Linked DNA regions of Homo sapiens: regions 1 and 3 are each linked to region 2. The links are contacts of gene promoters, found by promoter capture Hi-C in blood cells and fetal thymus (Javierre and others, 2016). All regions are on one chromosome and are shown on one strand. Each heading gives the region's core, a stretch centred on a gene start or on the middle of the fragment in contact. The rest is flanking DNA. Distances are from core to core; before and after follow the strand shown. Region 1 holds the start of METTL13 (methyltransferase 13, eEF1A N-terminus and K55). Region 2 holds the start of AXDND1 (axonemal dynein light chain domain containing 1). Region 3 holds the start of GORAB (golgin, RAB6 interacting).

Region 1 (2,700 bases), core at 59-2,558, 7.6 Mb before region 2:
GTCCTCCAGGTGATTCTGACGCATGCCAGTTTGAGAATCACTTTTTTAAACCAATGTTTAAGTCCAATCTAACCTACTTAACTATTAACAGTCTACCTGGCTATCTACCTGTGGTAGTGTAGTATGTAACAGCCCACAGCACACATGCTCAATTCCAAGCCTATCTGCTCTCCGCAATCAGTATATTCCTCCTGCAATTTATCATGGTATGAAAGGCCCAGTGATACACATATTTGGTCATTTTCAAATAGTGCCTGCCAGCATAGTGGCTCACACCAGTCATCCCAGCACTTTGGTAGGGTGAGGCGAGATGATCATTTGAGCTCAGGAGTTTGAGAACAGCCCGGACAACATGGCGAAACCCCATTTCTACAAAAAAAAAAAAAAAATTAGCCAGCGGTAGTGGCGTGCTACTTGGGAGGCTGAGGTGGGAGGATCCCCTGACCCCTGGAAAGTGGAGACTGCAGTGAGCCATGACTGCACCACTGCACTCCAGTCTGGGCGACAGAGACAGACCCTGTCTGAAAAAAAAGTGCCCTTCACAGAAGCTTCCTCAGGGTATTAGCATGAGCATGTGAAAGTACAGTATGTTTATCAAACACATAAAATAAGCAGTTATAAATAACGTCAGAATAACACAAGGAGGCCAATTATCAAAATGAAAGGCTAGTTTTGCATGCTGTGCTTTGCGGAGAGAAGGAAGAGGGAGTTTTCATGTTATTACACTTTTGATAGCAGAATCCTATATTTTGGTGCAGAGGTGGCAAAATAAGGCGGGGGGTGCTGGTGCGCAGAAGCTGACAAGGTTAGAATGTGCAGCGTTTTTACGACGGACTGGCTTTACTCATTTCCTGCCTCACTTCTCTCCTATCTGTATAGGTTTTTCTTTTCGTCCTCCTCTACCAGTACGCTCCCGCCTGCCGCGCTCCGCCCTTGTGCGGCGCACGATCGGAGTCAGTGATTAAGCCGGCTCCAAGACAAAGCGGAGGCCGAGCCCAGGAAGCAAGCGCGCTCTCCGCCCCGCCTGGAGGGAGGGCCCAACCACAGCACAGCCGCGCTCACTCCTCACCCGGACGTGACCTAGTTCTCACAGAGGCCCGGCCTCTTCCGCCACAACTCCGGCCCGCGGTCCCGCCCCGTTCCGTGAATGGTCGGCCGGCCTCAGGTCAAAAAAGCGTTTAGGTGTCTGCGACGGAGCCTCCGGAGAAAGGCAAGCACGTCGCAGCCAATGAGGTGATAGAAACGCAAAGCAGCGACCAATGACTAGCTGAGTTGGGCTGGGCCGGCCGACGAATCACGAGGCTTCGCACCCGGATATGGTTATGGGCTCGGAAATCTAGTTCGGGAAAAGTGTGAGGGGCTCTTCACGTGGGGAAGGAACAGCAGGCGCGGAGGAGGGGGCAAGCGTGTGTGAGATTCAGTGGTCCATGCGTGCGTTTGTCGTGTAAGGGTCATTCCTGGGGTTTGGAGTGGGGGAACAAATCAATGTGGCTGTTTTTCCGTGGAAAGAATTCCCACTGCAGTGTCCCGGAGCCTGCGTGTGGTGGGCAAGCTCCTCAAATGGTATCTCACAGGGAATAGGGGAGTCTTGAAAACGCAGCTTCGGCAGTAGGAACATGAACCTCTTACCTAAAAGTTCCAGGGAGTTTGGCTCCGTTGACTATTGGGAGAAGTTCTTCCAGCAGCGAGGAAAGAAAGCTTTCGAGTGGTATGGAACCTACCTGGAACTGTGCGGGGTGCTACATAAATATATCAAGCCCAGGGAAAAGGTGAGGAGCGCGGGTTGGTAGCCCTTCGTACGTGCTCCGGAAGGTGGGAACTGGTAACAGGAATCTTGCACTTGGTGGACAGTGACAGGCGGGAGGACCCTAGTTGGACGCATATTTCAGCATTTCCTGCATTGTTCCTGCTAAAAGACAAACTAGAATATTCTTTCAGGCCGGGCGCAGTGGCTCACACCTGTAATCCGAACACTTTGGGAGACCGAGGTGGGAGGATCGCTTGAGCCCTGGAGTTAAAGACCAGCCTGGGGAACATGAGACCTCGTCTCTACAAAAAATGAAAAAATTAGCCGGGCGTGGTGGCGCGCATCTGTATTTCCAGCTACTCGGGAGGCTTAGGCGGGAGGATCGCTTGAGCCCAGGAGGTCGAGGCTGCAGTGAGCCATGATCACGCCACTGCACTCCAGCCTGGGTGACAGAGTGAGACCCTGTCTAAAAAAAAAAACATTTCTTTAAAGGTTTTCAGATAATAGACCTCCCACCCCAGCTCATTCTTGGATTAATAACCCTACTTGAAGAGTGACTTCCCATCTTGAAAGTATGTTCTTCTGTCACTGTGCATTCCTGTGCAACCTGCAGCAGGTGTGACTTTGTGTATGAATTTGTTTTTCAAATAGTCGTTGAGTGCGCCCCAAGTTTCAGGCACTGCTCAGTCCTTAAACTATAAGAGCATTAAGACGTAAACCCTGCACATGTTCCAGAAGTGAAACGTGATAAGTACAACAATGGGTTTGGTATAGGTGAGATTGTACTGGAGGTAGGGAAGGAGGAAGGTAGAAAACTTAACATTTGTGGGGAAGCTTTATGTGCCAAGCCTTATGTTGGGTGCTGTGTATGTGCATGTGCAATCTTTGAATTCTCATCATAAATTCAGGTGAGTGGCCATGCATACATTTTACAGATGAGGAAACTGAGGCCC
Region 2 (2,700 bases), core at 55-2,554:
AGGCGCGCGCCACCTCTCTTGGCTAATTTTTGTGTTTTTAGTAGAGACGGGGTTTCACCATGTTGGTCAGGCTGGTCTCGAACTCCTGACCTCGTGATCCACCCGCCTCGGCCTAAGAAAGTGCTGGGATTACAGGCGTGAGCCACCGGCCGCTGATGGTATTCTTTCCTGAGGGCAGATTTTCACGCCAGAAGCCCCGACAATTATACCTGAGCTGGTTCCACCTAAGCTCAATCCTCCTTCCCTGCCCCAAGGGGGTGAAAAATCTGGGCCCAGGAGGCCTTCCTTGTGCTCTGGGGGGAGGCATTTAAGGGTCCAAGGAAGACGTGACCGAAATGTAAAGCACTGGACGGCTTACCCAATAAGGGACCCAGCGTTTCTTATTACCCAACATCCCCCTGAGTCTGGCTTTTAGAAAAATATGCAAAGCGTCCGGGCGCAGTGGCTCACGCCTATGATCCCAGCACTTTGGAAGGCCGAGGCGGGCGCGGTCAGGAGTTTGAGACCAGCCTGGCCAATATGGTGAAACCCCGTCTCTACTAAAAATACAAAAATTAGCCGGGCATGGTGGCCCCCGCCTGTAGTCCCTCGGGAGGCTGAGGCAGGAGAATCGCTTGAACCTGGGAGGCGGAGGTGGCAGTGAGCTGAGATCGCACCATTGCACTCCAGCCAGCGCGACAGAACGAGACTCCGTCTCAAACAAAACAAAACAAAAAACAAACTACAAAATTAGCCGGGCATGGTGGCGTCTGCCTGTAGTCCCAGCTGCTTGGGAGGCTGAGGCAGGAGAATTGCTTGAACCCAGGAGGTGGAGGTTGCAGTGAGCCGAGATCGCACCATTAAACTCCAGCCTGGGCGACAAGAGGGAAATTCCGTCTCAGGGGAAAAAAAGAGAAAGAAAGAAAAAGAGGAAGAAAGAGAAAGAAAAATATGCAAAGCAACAAAAAAGAGAGCTAGAAAGATGGAAACAACTCAGAAGACCCTTGCTTAACCCGCGTGCGTCACGGGCTACAGGGGTCGGCCCCTCGAGCTAACCCCCACCGGCGCCTGCGCACTGGCCTGGCCCGCGGCAGGAAGCCCCGGCGTGAGACACTTTCGGATTCCGTGACAACGGCGGGATTAAACGTTTTTCTTCTCCTTTGCTACTGAACCTATGCTGTGACTTAGAACATAAGAAACTCCAAGAGGGTGTAGGGATTGTCTTAGCTGTCTCCCTCCTCCGCCGGCACCGCTGAAGGCAGCCCCTATGGAGGGCGCTAAACCTCGGGGCCCTGGGTTTCTATGACGACAAACAGGCGTTCCAGCAAAGGAGGAAGTGAGCGGATGCTGGGCGGGTACGCAATGTGTGGGTAGGATCGCGGGTGTCCCTTTCCCGTCATTTTAAACCAAGAAGCAGTGCGAGGCCTGCCCAACTCGCGAGTTTGTGGAACTGGCGCGCGAGAGCGCTGCCTGTGGGGAAGGTATGGTCCCCAGCCGAGCCGCCTGCAGCGAGTGTCCCCCACCAGGGGTGCCGGCGGTCTGCGGGGTCCGCCGAGCGGGTCCTTCCTGCCCTGCTCCTTGACCCCGACCTGACGGTCCACTAAGGCTTCTTAGTCGCTACACATAACCCCAGAACATAGAGGTCGCCCCGAAGAAGGAGAACCATGCTAGATGAATTCTAAACTGCGATCTGAACCTAAGTACTCAATAGTTGTCATCTTTTTTTTTTTTTTTAAATCTTTTTTCCTCTGCCTGCAGGACTATGTGGCAGCCTGCAAGTCCCAGTGCGGCGCTGATTTGTGTCTAAATTAGCTTTCCGGAGGACTATTTCAAATTACTAAAGAGATAGGAGGCATTGTTTATTATGTCTCTCCCGAAAACGCCCTCCACCCCGCTAAACTCTACATCAACATCTGAGAGCAAAAAGTTAAAAGTGTCTGTAGCCAAGGAAGGGACAAGAGGTAAACTTCGTTGATTCTGAAGTCATAAACAGTCATGGCCGTAAGACAGAAATCACCTTCCATTCACCGGTTTTTTAAATCTGATATTCAGAATACCTTGATTGGCTACATTTTTCTAACACACTTGCTTAAATAAAGCAAGAAGTCATTCCTTTTACAGTATTTTGAGTCAGAGTACTGTTTCACTACTCCATCTAAATACAGTTTATACTTTTTTTCAAATGTTGATTTATATATGATTTTAAATTCAACCTATTTTAAATATCAATAGTTACGTATTTTTTGGTTCCTGGTCTTTGGCTTTAAGGAACTTTGGAAAAAGTAATAGTGAGGCAGGGCGCGGTGGCTCACGCCTGTAATCCCAGCACTTTGGGAGGCCGAGGTGGGCGGATCACTTGAGGTCAGGAGTTCGAGACCAGCCTGGCCAAATATGATGAAATCCCGTCTCTACTAGAAATACAAAAATTAGCCGGGCATGGTGGCTCGCGCCTGTAGTCCCAGCTTACTCTGGAGGCTGAGGCAAGAGAATCGCTTGAACCCAGGAGGTGAGGTTGCAGTGAGCCAGGATCGAGCCATTGCATTCCAGTCTGGGAGACAAGAGCAAGACCCCATCTCAAAATAAATAAATAAATAGGCCGGGCACAGTGGCTCACACCTGTAATCCCATTTGGGAGGCTGAGGCTGGCGGATCACGAGGTCAAGAGATTGAGACCATTCTGGCCAACATGGAGAAACTCTGTCTACTAAAAATACAAAAATT
Region 3 (2,700 bases), core at 35-2,534, 8.8 Mb before region 2:
TATTTTAAAATGTAAGCCAAGATGAGGTGTTTTGTTGTTCTTACTGCAAAAATAGTGAAAGAGAACCATGAAAAATAGTATAACTAGGTCTCTCTTGAATCATCCTTATCTATGTGTATTTTGACAACGCTTGCATCTTTTAATCTTTGCAACCATATTTCAAATGAGGAAATGGGATCTCAGGTTAGTGTTCAAGGCAGAACCCGAATTACGGTATTAGGATTCCAGGCAGGATCCTAAGAAATGCTTTCCCATCCCCCAGCACCGACGTTTTACAATGTCTTCTCTGAAAAACAGATTTAAAGGGGAGACTAAGAAATCCCGGCCGGGCGCAGTGGCTCACGCTTGTAATCCCAACACTTTGGAAGCCCGAGGCGGGCGGATACCCTAAGGTCAGGAGTTCGAGACCAGCCTGGCTAACATGGTGAAACCCCGTGTCTACTAAAAATACAGAAAATTAGCCGGGTGTGGTGGCCGGCGCCTGTAATCCCAGCTACTCGGGAGGCTGAGGCGGGAGAATCGCTTGAACCCGGGAGGCGGAGGTTGCAGTGAGCCGAGATCGTGCTATTGCACTCCAGCTTGTGCAACAAGAGCGAAACTATGTCTCAAAAAAAAAAAAAAAAAAAAGTAAGAAAAAAAGAAAAAGAAATCCCTTAAGAGGAAAGTTACATATTATAATTATTCACAAAGGAAACAACCCAAAGCAAAAGAAATCTGAGAGCCGCTCCGGCCTGCGAGAGACCTGGTTATGCCTGTTCCCTTTTCATCAATTATACCCCACCCCTTTTAAATGTTTCTTCATCATCAAAATCCTAAATCTGATCATTTCCTGAGTTAATCTGAAGGAGGCCTCCAGCGCTGTGCACACTCCCAGCAAAACACAAGGATTTTAGGGCACACTAAGAGCCACAGAGAGCACCGCTCCCGCCCCACAGGTACAGGACCCCAAAGGCACTTAGATCTCCCGTTTCCGCCACCGACTTGTTGCTCCTTCCCAAATACCTGTTTATCTCCACCCTTATCCCCATCGCCATTTCCCCCCTTAGCTCCTGAAGCGATTAACCAGCAACAGTGAGAAACAATGAGAGAGAGAGAGAGTAGAGGTAAGCCAGAGGAAACGAATGTCTGCGTGGCAAGGTTTCCTTAGGCAGTTTGTCAGGCACTGCTGAAGGCAGCCTGGAAGGAAGCCGGACCCTGAGGCCGGGGAGAGAGGGCCTTGTGTTTGGAGCCCGATGCACTGATTGGCCGCGGCCGGGGAAAAACCCGGATGAGCTGGGCAGCAGTGTTGGCAGTCGCGGCTGCGAGATTTGGGCACTTTTGGGGGTGCCGGTGGCCCGGGCCGATGGCGCAAGGTTGGGCAGGATTCTCTGAGGAGGAACTGAGGAGACTAAAGCAGACTAAAGGTTACAAGATGGGTTTACAGTGGTTTAATTCTTGGGTCTTAAGGGGAAGAGGCGGGGATGCAGCTTTGGCGGGGAAAGGGGGCGTGGAAGCGGCTACGTTTGTGTTAGCGGAAGGCGCTGTAAGTACGTGGACTGGATTAGGGGGTTTCAGAGGAGGACTTACTGGGAGTCACGACGGGAGGGGCAAGCCAGAGGACTGGGATCTTCTTTTAGAAAAAACGGTCCAGGAATCCACTGTAGGGATTTGACTCTTGTGAAAGGAATGGGACTTGGGAGAGGAAGTGAGCCTACAGCCGGGGTGTCTCCCTTAGGGAAGATTGCTGCAGGAATCAACGGTTGGAAGGTTAGGGTCAGGGTAAGGGAAGGAGGAGGGGCGCACACCGTATTAGAATTGTGATGAATTTATAGAAGCAGATGGTTGGAAAAAAGGAGCACAGGCGTCTGAATAAAGGCAAAAATTCGGTACTTTTCACAATTCATCTGGAGTGTTGCATTCACTTCTGGTTGCCAGATGATTTTTGCAGTACTTCCCAATTTTTGAGAATCAGCAAACCAAAAGGGTCTTTGAGAGGGTAGATGTGAAGACTTTATATGTTTATATACATACAGTCTTACTGACTTTGGAGTAAGCTAACCTTGTGCTTCTCTCTCTGGCTTTATAGAGTAATCATTGAATGGGCTTGTACAATTTTTTTGTTGTTGTGGAAGGAATTAAGTTTGCTGATTGTTGGTGGAAAACTTAGTAATATTAATTGCACTTTGCTTGTGGTTGAAATTTCGCAGTGATCTGTATGGTTATCGTGGTAGTACACACAATTTCTGTAAGAAGTGTACATCACTCTTGGTACCTTAATTCAAATACTTTATTTTGGTAGCAAATGAAGTAAACCTTTTGTTAGCGTTTGTGGGGAAATTGGATGTTGCTCTGGTAGCTTGTGCATTTTTAGCATAAATATGAGAATAATCTAGGGCAGACAAGTGGGAAAAGAAGTAAATTAGTAAGATAGGGCCAATGTAGATTATATCGACTGGGGACATTTTGACTGGTCCAGGGGACTTTAAAAACTCTATCATAAAGGTTAGGCTAAGCTATGTAGTTAACTGACTCTGTGTTGCTTGATATACTCAAATTCTTTTGCTTTGTGTTTTCAACATCCATTCACATACTTTGATATACAGGGTACAAGTGCCCTGGCCTCTGGTCTGACTCCAGTAGACTCATGAGGAGACAAACCACAAAGTTATGTGATAGTAGATATTGCAAGAACTTGCTTCAGAGACAAGAGGAACCTCACTC

The links. Contacts are between HindIII fragments. The CHiCAGO score rates a contact against its expected background, and 5 or more counts as called.
Region 1: the fragment with the promoter of METTL13 here is called in contact with the fragment with the promoter of AXDND1 in region 2 in 2 of 17 cell types (total CD4 T cells and naive CD8 T cells); the score reaches 7.2 in total CD4 T cells.
Region 3: the fragment with the promoter of GORAB here is called in contact with the fragment with the promoter of AXDND1 in region 2 in 1 of 17 cell types (non-activated CD4 T cells); the score reaches 5.9 in non-activated CD4 T cells.

The regions. Positions count from the first base shown.
Region 1 is chr1:171,780,352-171,783,051 of GRCh38, forward strand. It overlaps METTL13 (methyltransferase 13, eEF1A N-terminus and K55), which reads left to right and starts at 1,309. Exons shown (of 8, transcript NM_015935.5): 1 at 1,309-1,769. The coding sequence starts at 1,617. RefSeq lists enhancers at 998-1,292, 1,122-1,655. The HindIII fragment of the contact is 1,150 bases long and covers 547-1,696 here.
Region 2 is chr1:179,364,667-179,367,366 of GRCh38, forward strand. It overlaps AXDND1 (axonemal dynein light chain domain containing 1), which reads left to right and starts at 1,305. Exons shown (of 26, transcript NM_144696.6): 1 at 1,305-1,334; 2 at 1,738-1,940. The coding sequence starts at 1,844. RefSeq lists enhancers at 856-1,255, 1,636-1,705. The HindIII fragment of the contact is 9,843 bases long and covers 1-2,700 here.
Region 3 is chr1:170,530,882-170,533,581 of GRCh38, forward strand. GORAB (golgin, RAB6 interacting) reads left to right here and starts at 1,285. Exons shown (of 5, transcript NM_152281.3): 1 at 1,285-1,403. The coding sequence starts at 1,343. It overlaps GORAB-AS1 (GORAB antisense RNA 1), which reads right to left and starts at 1,728. Exons shown (of 3, transcript NR_125958.1): 1 at 1,567-1,728. The HindIII fragment of the contact is 10,464 bases long and covers 1-2,700 here.